Linked DNA regions of Homo sapiens: region 1 is linked to region 2. Evidence: promoter capture Hi-C in 16 types of primary human blood cells and fetal thymus (Javierre and others, 2016). All regions are on one chromosome and are shown on one strand. Each heading gives the region's core, a stretch centred on a gene start or on the middle of the fragment in contact. The rest is flanking DNA. Distances are from core to core; before and after follow the strand shown. Region 1 overlaps ITGAM (integrin subunit alpha M). Region 2 holds the start of COX6A2 (cytochrome c oxidase subunit 6A2).

The links. The method cuts DNA at HindIII sites, captures the fragments that hold promoters and counts their contacts. A CHiCAGO score of 5 or more calls a contact.
Region 1: a fragment that was not itself captured here is called in contact with the fragment with the promoter of COX6A2 in region 2 in 1 of 17 cell types (M0 macrophages); the score reaches 6.4 in M0 macrophages.

Annotation. Positions count from the first base shown.
Region 1 is chr16:31,267,055-31,271,516 of GRCh38, forward strand. It overlaps ITGAM (integrin subunit alpha M), which reads left to right. Exons shown (of 30, transcript NM_000632.4): 6 at 3,900-4,030. Among named protein-coding and RNA genes, the nearest start is that of ITGAM, 9.3 kb to the left of the region's middle. RefSeq lists an enhancer at 4,228-4,462. The HindIII fragment of the contact is 3,863 bases long and covers 1,079-4,462 here.
Region 2 is chr16:31,427,046-31,431,569 of GRCh38, forward strand. It overlaps COX6A2 (cytochrome c oxidase subunit 6A2), which reads right to left and starts at 1,315. Exons shown (of 3, transcript NM_005205.4): 1 at 1,208-1,315; 2 at 970-1,106; 3 at 686-812. The coding sequence starts at 1,280. The coding sequence ends at 729. The HindIII fragment of the contact is 1,386 bases long and covers 690-2,075 here.

The DNA.
Region 1 (4,462 bases), core at 1,760-4,259, 160 kb before region 2:
ACGGGGTTTCACCATGTTGGCCAGGCTGGTCTCGAACTCCTGAGCTCTGGTGATCTGCCCACCTTGGCTTCCCAAAGTGCTGGGAATGAGCCAGGGAATGAGTGGGGGGCATGAGCCACCATGCCTGGCCAGAGTGCGTGGATCTTTCAAGCTGCTTTTTCCCACTGCTTTGTTCGATGGCTATGCCATCTTTTTGCTTGTCTTCATGTTGATTCTGGGACCACAGGCGAATGTTTCTCCCTTGCATTTTTTTTCTTTCTCAAGCCCTGTTCCTCTATATTTCACCCTCCACAGTTAATCCTCCTTCCTCCACAGAGAAAACAAAAGCTTCAGGCATGGACTCCCTCCACTTTCCCCTTCTCTTATTTTATCTTAATAAGCGGTTTTCCAGTCTTCACTGGAATTTGTTGACAAATTCTAAAGGAGCTGTAACACCGCACTTTCTCCTTTTTCTCAAATTTCCATAATGACAGCACTCCTGGCAGTGACTCACTCGTTTTAGAGGAAGACCTGTCTCTCCTCTGTCCCATGACTAAATTCTTCCATATGGGCTTTTGAGAGTCTCTCATGCACCAACTAAGGTGATCACCTATCTTTCTTTTTTCTTTTTTTTTTGGAGACAGGGTCTTGCTCTGTCACCTAAGCTGGAGTGCAGTGGCACAATCTCGGCTCACTGCAGCCTCTGCCTCCTGTGCTCAAGAAATTCTTGTGCCTCCGCCTCCAGAGTAGCTGGGATCACAGGTGCGCATATACTGATTTTTGTATTTTTTGTAGAGATGGGGTTTCACCTTGTTGCCCAGGCTGGTCTCGAATTCCTGGGCTCAAGAGATCTTCCCACCTCAGCCTCCCACAGTGCTGGGATCACAGGTGTGAGCCACTGCGCCTGGCCCAGCATCTCTTGAATCACTTGTTTTCTCTCTAGGACAATTAACTTCCCCCTTCCTCTGGCTGTAAACACTCTTCATTCTATCTGTATCTGAAAAGCAATCAACCACCACAATCGATAGCCATGAAAACAATCTTCTCTCTTCCAGTCTCCTCCTCATCTCCTGCCATCTCTCCTCACCCTCACCACCCAAGCTTCCTGAGTGCATTCTCTTCACCCCCGGCTGGCCTCCAGCTTCCCTCTCCACCTAGGGGCACTGGGTTCTGGGTTCTCTTTTCACCCACGTGTTCTTCTTTCCTGAAATCACCCAGTTCTGTGGCTTCAGCTAACACTTCTACCTCTCCCTCTTTAGACCTCACTCTCAGGGTTCAAGACTACTTCTTTAAAAAAGTTTTCATTTATTAAAAAATATATAATACATACACTTGGTTCAAAATTCGAAAGGGTGCGGTAGCTCACACCTGTAATTCCAGCACTTTGGGAGGTCAAGGCAGGAGGATTGTTTGAGGCCAGGAGTTTGGGACCAGCCTAGACAACATAATGAGACCCCATCTCTACAAAAAATGCAATTAGCCAGGCATGGTGGCGTGTGCCTGTGGTCTTAGCTATTCAGGAGGCCTCCCAAAGTGCTGGGGTTACAGGCATGAGCCACTGTGCCCTGCCAGTCTTTCTAAAATACAAAACAAATCATCTCACTTCCTTTTCTAAGAACCTTCTGTGGCTCCCCATTGCCTACAGATAAAGTCGAGCTCCTTATTGGAGTAGAAAGGCCCTTGCCCGCTGCTCTTTGCTTGATGCCACCGCTGTGTCTCCATCGCCGTCACATACGTTTGTCCCTGTAGTGCTGTTTCCATCAAACGGCATTCCTGGATTCTGCCAGAATCCTTTTGAGGCCCTTGTCCCATATATCAGTAGGAGTCTCAACTGGGACCAAAAGCACATTCCAGTAATGTAACTGCCCAAGGGGTTCACCTTGCTTGCTGCCTAGACAGAGCCGATTCATCAAGACAGCAGAATTGCGATAGAGAAAGAATAATTCACACAGAGCCAGCTATGCAGGGGACCAGAGTTTTATTATCACTCGAATCAGTCTCCTCGAGCATTTGGGGGCAGAGTTTTTGAGGATAACTTGGTAGGTCGCGGGGGAAGCCAGTGAGCTGGGAGTGCTGATTGATCAGGGATGAAATCATCGGGAGTCGGAGCTGTCTTCTTGCGTTCAGTTGGTTCCTGGGTGGGGGCAGCAAGATCGGATGAACCAGTTTATTGATCTGGGCAGTGCCAGCTGATCCATCAAGTGCAAGGTCTGCAAAATATCTCAAGCACTGATTTTAGGAGCAGTTTAGGGAGGGTCAGAATCTTGTAGCCTCCAGCTGCATGACTCCTAAATCATAATTTCTCATCTTGTGGCTAACGTTAGTCCTACAAAGGCAATCTAGTCCCCAGGTAAGAAGGAGGTCTGCTTTGGGAAAGGGCTGTTACGATCTTTGTTTAAACTATAAACTATAAACTATAAACTAAGTGTCTCCCAAAGTTAGCTCAGCCTACACCCAGGAATGAACACGGACAGCTTGGAGGTTAGAAGCAAGATGGAATCAGTTAAGTTAGATCTCTTTCACTGTCTCAGTCATAATTTTGCAAAGGCGGTTTCAGTAAGATTTATTTACAAAGAGGGGGGTTTATTTATAAAGGGAGTAATTATAAAGCTGTGACAGGCCTAAGGGAGCCATCAGGGACTTTCCAAGCCCTGGGCAAGCAGGTCTGTTGCCACCCCTGGGTTTATGGGTTGAGGAGAGGGAGAGCTCACCAGGGTCTGGAGAGAGTCATGTGGAGCTGGCTTCCTTCTGAGGAACAGTTGGTCTTTTGTGAAGGACATAGCTGTCCCCAAACAACCTCAATGGGAGAACACCCGGACCTCACTGCCCTCCTCCCTCTAGTCTTCTGTTGAGCCCCCTCATCTGCCAAATCCAATGGGAATCCAGAGGGCAACAGAGTCCTGGTGATGGGGTCCCTGCAGGTTGACCTCCCAGGCCACAGAGCTGAGCGGCAATGGGTAGAAAGTGGATTTGGGGATGGGGCAGAAGGCAGAGGAGCACATTCCACATCACTTTATATGTGTGTGCCCTTCCCTTTTCTAGAATCTACTCCTTTTGTATATCTGGCAAATCCTTCCTTCCTTCCTTCCTTCCTTCCTCCTTTGCTTTCCTTTCCTTTCCTTTCCTTTCCTTTCCTTTCCTTTCCTTTCCTTTCCTTTTTTTCTTCCTTTCTTCCTTTTCTTCGAAGTCTTGCTCTGTGACCCAGGCTGGAGTGCAGTGGTGCGATCTCAGCTACTTTTTGTATTTTTAATAGAGATAGGGTTTCACCATGTCAGCCAGGCTGGTCTCAAACTCCTGATCTCAAGTGATCCACCTGCCTCAGCCTCCCAAAGTGCTGGGATTACAGGTGTGAGCCACCTCGCCCAGCTGGGCAAATTATTTCCTGTTCTTCAAGATTCAGTCAAACATCACCACATTCCCTGATTCCCTTGGGCAGAATTAACGAAAATTTTCCATACCACTTTGTCCTTGTTTATTTACTTATTTATTTATTTTTAAGAGACAGGGTCTTTCTCTGTGGCCCAGGCTGGAGTGCAATGGCGTGATCATAGCTCACTGAAGCCTCAACCTTTTGGGCTGAAGTGATCCCCCACCCTCAGCCTCCTGAGTAGCTGGGACTACAGGCATGTGCCAACATGCCTGACTAATTTTTAACGTGTGTGTGTGTATATATATATATATATATATATATATATATATATATATATATATGTTTTTAACGTGTGTATACATATATATATATACACACACGTTAAAAATTATATATATATTATACATAATTTATATATATATTTAACATCTATATTTTTTATAGAGACGGGGTCCTATATTCTCATTGTTCAGCAGAGGGCTGACATGCAAAAAAACCCAAAACACCAAGTGTCAAATTACTTGATTCATACTCTTTTCCCCTTCCCCAGGGTGTCCTCAAGAGGATAGTGACATTGCCTTCTTGATTGATGGCTCTGGTAGCATCATCCCACATGACTTTCGGCGGATGAAGGAGTTTGTCTCAACTGTGATGGAGCAATTAAAAAAGTCCAAAACCTTGGTGAGGGCCCAGGGGTAGGTTAGGGAAGAGCCCACACGGGGCTGGAAGATACATGGCAACCGGGCCACCATGTTCTCCTCCCAGTTCAACTGCAGACATTGCCAAATTGACGATCGATTATGGTTTGCCTTCCTGAGTCTCTTTTCTGCTCTGTTGGATGCAGCCTCAGCATTCTTTCAGCCTTTTATAAAGCGGGCAGCTCTAATTGTTAAGGTTGGCATGGGAGATGAAGCCCACGTGTCATTGCTGGCTGAGTTCTATTTTCATTTTTATTTCTTATTTTTTTGAGACAGAATCTCACTCTTTCTCTCAGGCTGGAGTGCAGTGGTGTGATCTTGGCTCACTGCAACCTCCGCCTCCCGGGTTCAAGCAATTCTCTTGCCTCAGCCTCCCGAGTAGCGGGGATTACAGGCGCATGCCACCATGCCTGGC
Region 2 (4,524 bases), core at 65-2,564:
CGGAGCTTGCAGTGAGCCGAGATTGCACCACTGCAGTCCGCAGTCCGGCCTGGGCGACAGAGCGAGACTCCGTCTCAAAAAAAAAAAAAAAAAAAGAAAGAAAGATTATAGAGAATTATCAAAAGATTCCAAATCCAGCATTAGGTCCCAAGGCCTCACACACAGGACTGTGGAGCCTCCGTCTGAAATCCAGAGAGCTGGGATTCACAGACACCAGCAGCTCAGGTGTCAGGCAAGAAGTGGGACTTCAGGATCTGCAGCCCTGGGCTCCCATGGGGGCTCTGCCGAGCTGCCGGAACTTGGACAAGTCATTTAATTCCCAAGAATCTCAGGTCTTCCTCGGGAGAAGGTGAACTAAATTTATACCCTGCTCCCAGCGTTACTGTGAGGATTCGGTGTACGCGGAAGCCCATTACAGCCTAGAGCCCTAATTATTAATAGGTGTGTGTGAGAGGGAGGCCTCATTATTACCAGGTGAGAGACAGGGAGCTGGGATCGCCTACCTGTGAGTGGAGGAGGCTCCCTCGAGCACCTCCGTATCAGCGGCGTGGGAAAAGCACGTGGAGCGCCCACCGCGCTAGGCGCATGCGCGGAGCAGGAGCGCTTACCAAGCTGGGCGCATGCGCGGAGCGGGCGCCTCTGGGCGCGCTCCCCGTGGCCCCGCCCTCCCCACAGAGCCGCAGACTCGAAGCTTCACACCTTTATTGTGTCCGGGGGCGTCCGGGGCCTCAGGGGTGTTCGTAGCCCGTGGGCAGAGGGTTCACGTGGCTATTGTGGAACAGAGTGTGGTTGCCGTCCCCCCAGGGGTAGGGCTGTGGAGAGAGCGGGGGAGGGAGCGCGCGTGAGCGCCGTGAGTCCGGAGTCCGCGCCCCGCGCGACCCCCCCCCCGCAGCACCCCCCCCCGCCCCCGCAGCACCCCCCCCCGCCCCCGCAGCACCCCCGTGCCGCCCGCGCGCCCGTCCCGCGTACCTTGGTGCGGATGCGGAGGTGTTGGTAGGGACGGAACTCGGGGCGCGGGCGGTGGCCCGAGTGGAGATAGGAGTTGAAGGTGCAGAGGGCCACGCTGGGCAGCGCCAGCACGAAGGTCAGCAGACGCCAGGTACGAGCTGCGGACGGAGCGGGGTGAGCGCGGCGGTCCTGGGGCGGCGGGCCTGTGAACAGGTGGGCAGGGTAGGGGAGCCCCCGGATCCGCCCGTTCCCCACTCACCTCCTGCTCCTCCGTGGCCTCCTTTGGCAGCGCTGGCCAAGCCCCGGGTCAGGGGCCTCAGAGGCAAAGCCATGATGGTGCGGGGAGCCGGGAACCAGCGCTGTCCTCGCTCCCTTTCCTGGGGCCTGGGGTCACCTCCCCTCTCTGGGCCAATCACCTGTTGAGTCTGGAGCACTGGCGGCTATTCTTAGGGGTTTCTATATTTAAAATGGGGCCTGACTGGCTTGAGGTCATCTCCAGACAGCTGTTGTCCTGTGCCTCTTATTTTGGCAAGGAGGCATTTAAGTACAATATGCCATTCTTTTTATATAGTTGCAGGGAAACTATTTTGTTCCCTATTCTATGCCTGGTGGCTGGCACACAGTTGGGCTTTAATAAATATTTGTAGAATGAATTAAGTGTCTTTTTGAGTCTCAGTGTTTTCAGCTGTAAAATGTATAATAATTCGTACCTTAAAAGATTTTTTAAATACTGGAGACGGGGATCTCACTATATTGTCCAGGCTGGTGTGGAACTCTTGAGCTCACGTGATCCTCCCGCCTCAGCCTCCCACAGTGCTGGGATTACAGGCATGAGCCACTACACGGCCCTTACATCATTTTTATGAAGTTTATGTAAGGTAGGAATGTGTCAACCTGGATTTTGGCAGGTAACAGTAGTTCAGTATATGTATTAGTCACAGTTCTTTGCAAAGAACAGAACTCACTCTTACTAGTTTTAGAAGATAAGTAATTGAGAATCTTAGGTAGCTTACTATGTCTGATATAGCCAGAGATGCCTACAGTCTGCACAGTCATAAACAAGTCATTCCGTTGGCCAGCTGCAGTGACACCCCCACAGCTCACACTGCTGGACCCTGGATGCCAAAAGCTTCATTAAGGCTGCCCTGGAAAACCAGAATTTTCCACCCTCATCCCCTCTTGAAAACAGATTCTTCATGAAACCTGTATCCTGGGTCGCTCTTTTCTGAAAGAATTATGTGATTGCACCAACTGGCAACCCCTAGGTCCCCCAGCTGCAGGAGGGGATGGGAAACTGAGCTCTGGATTCTGCCTTAGGGAGGCAGGAATTGTAGGGAAAATCTCCAGGTCTAGGATGAGTATTCAAAAGGTTCCAGGCAGCCACAAGCCTGACAGGTGTCTACTGCAAAGTGCATTATTTCAATCTGAAAAATATGACTACTTGGAGAAAGCAAGCCTAGACAGGGCTGGTGTGAACCCTCTATCAAAGCAGGTCACAAGAAAGCCACAAGACCAGGCAGGGATGACATCTGCCTGTTCTGTCCTCAGCAACGGGCAGGGACCTTGGCATGAAGGAGGTGTTCTAAAAATATGTATGTAATGAATGCTTGAACCTTGTTACTTTGGTTAACCCTACAACAATGCCTTTTCAGAATTACAATCCAATAGGAAGCTTCTAGCTTTGATCAAGGGCTGATGTACTAATATGAACTTAATATACAAAAGAAGAATGAATTATATAGACATATAATCTGAATTTAATATATAAAAAAAACGAGGAAGATATATTTTCAAGAAGGGGCTCTATACCTGTTTCTCATTGGTAATAAACTGAACAGTATGTTCCATCCAACTTTAAGCTGCTGCTATTTTTAAAAAAAATAACCTCCTTGAGCAGTCAAATGTTATACAGTGTTACAAAAATTATTCCTGAGCTCTCACTGAGCTATAATAGAATTCTTCCTACAGTTTTTTTCCCAGCTGGACTTTGGCATTGTTGCAGAGAAGATGGGGCCCTATTCCAGTTAAAGATACCTGGCATCTCCCTCTACACATAGCCCCCTCCCTACGTATATAAGATAATGGCTCCTGGAGAAAACAGACATGAAGACAGGTATTTTTACTTGACAAAGTTCTAGAGGCCTGGCATAGTGGCCCACGCTTGTAATCCCAGCACTTTTGGGAGAATGAGGAGGGCGGATCACTTGAGGTCAAGAGTTTGAGTCCTGCCTGGCCAACATGGTGAAACCCCATCTCTACTAAAAATGCAAAAATTAGCTGGGTGTGGTGGCCCGTGCCTGTAATCCCAGCTACTCGGGAGGCTGAGGCAGGAGAATCGCTTGATCCCAGGAGGTGGAGGTTGTAGTGAGCCAAGATTGTGCCACTGCACTTCAGCCTGGGTGACAGAGTAAGACTCTCTCAAGAAAAAAAAAAAGAAGGAAAAAAGGAAGAAAAGGTTCTAGGTTTCTTTTCTCCCCTAAAAGGCCCCTCAGAGTTTTTCTGGTTGCTGCCAAACAATTCCCTGGGAATTCCCATCCCTTTGTTCTCAGCTTGGGAGCTCCTGTGGAGAGGTTTTCTTGCTGGGATGTCAAGAACGCCCTGAGGAGGGCCACTTCTGTCCTGGGCTGCTGTCACCATCACGAGGTGCACTTGCCCAGGTACCCAGAGACCTCCGCTCAGGTGGTCTGTGCTTTTCTGGGCTTGTCACCATCTTACCTGCCTCTCTAGAGGGTGTGCAGAGCTGTCTCTTCCAGGCTGTGCACTCACCATTGTTTCTGTAAGTTCTCACTCACACAGTTCTTAACCTGGCTGCTGCCAACACTTTCAGTTTCTAGAGGTTTAATTTTTCCTCCACTTTAGGCAGAGGGAAGAACAAACTCACCAGGTGCTAAATAAACCCCGGAGGGCAGCATCTCAGCCTCTGTTCAGAGTATCTCAGCTGTTGGTGGTGAAGGAGGTGGAGGCATGACTCAGGGTCAGTTTCTCTTGTGCCCTCTTCCTGGGATGCTGCATACCATGACCACATTTTCTAAAGCAAAGATCGATTACATGTGATCTACTAAGTATAAATGTTTATGGGGGCCCTAGGGACAGCGTATTTGAAATTAGAATAGTCCTGGAAAAACAACTGTGATACAGGACATGGGTTAGCTAGAACGAACAGGTACAGAGAGATGGAGCTCAGACAGCATTGGGGTGGGGTCCAGTGGCAACAGGGACATAGACTCTAAATAAATGGGGCTCTGAGCTCCCTCTGCACTTGGGAGGGGCCAGTGGCTATGTGATAGTGGATGTCTACTGTTTTGTGTCATATGACCAATATATCTATGCCTTCTTTTCTGATACTGACACACACACCCCTGCCCCCCTTATTCTCAGTTCAAGTTCAAGTGGGGTTGACTCCCTCCTCTAGCTCCAAGAAGGGCCACATGATCCAGGCCTACCCAATCAGAGCATTCTATTCTCCAGGTCATAGTGATTTTTTTTTTTTGAGACAGAGTCTCACTCTGTCCCCCAAGCTGGAGTGCAGTGGTGCAGTCTTGGCACACTGCAACCCCTGTCTCCCATGTTCAAGTG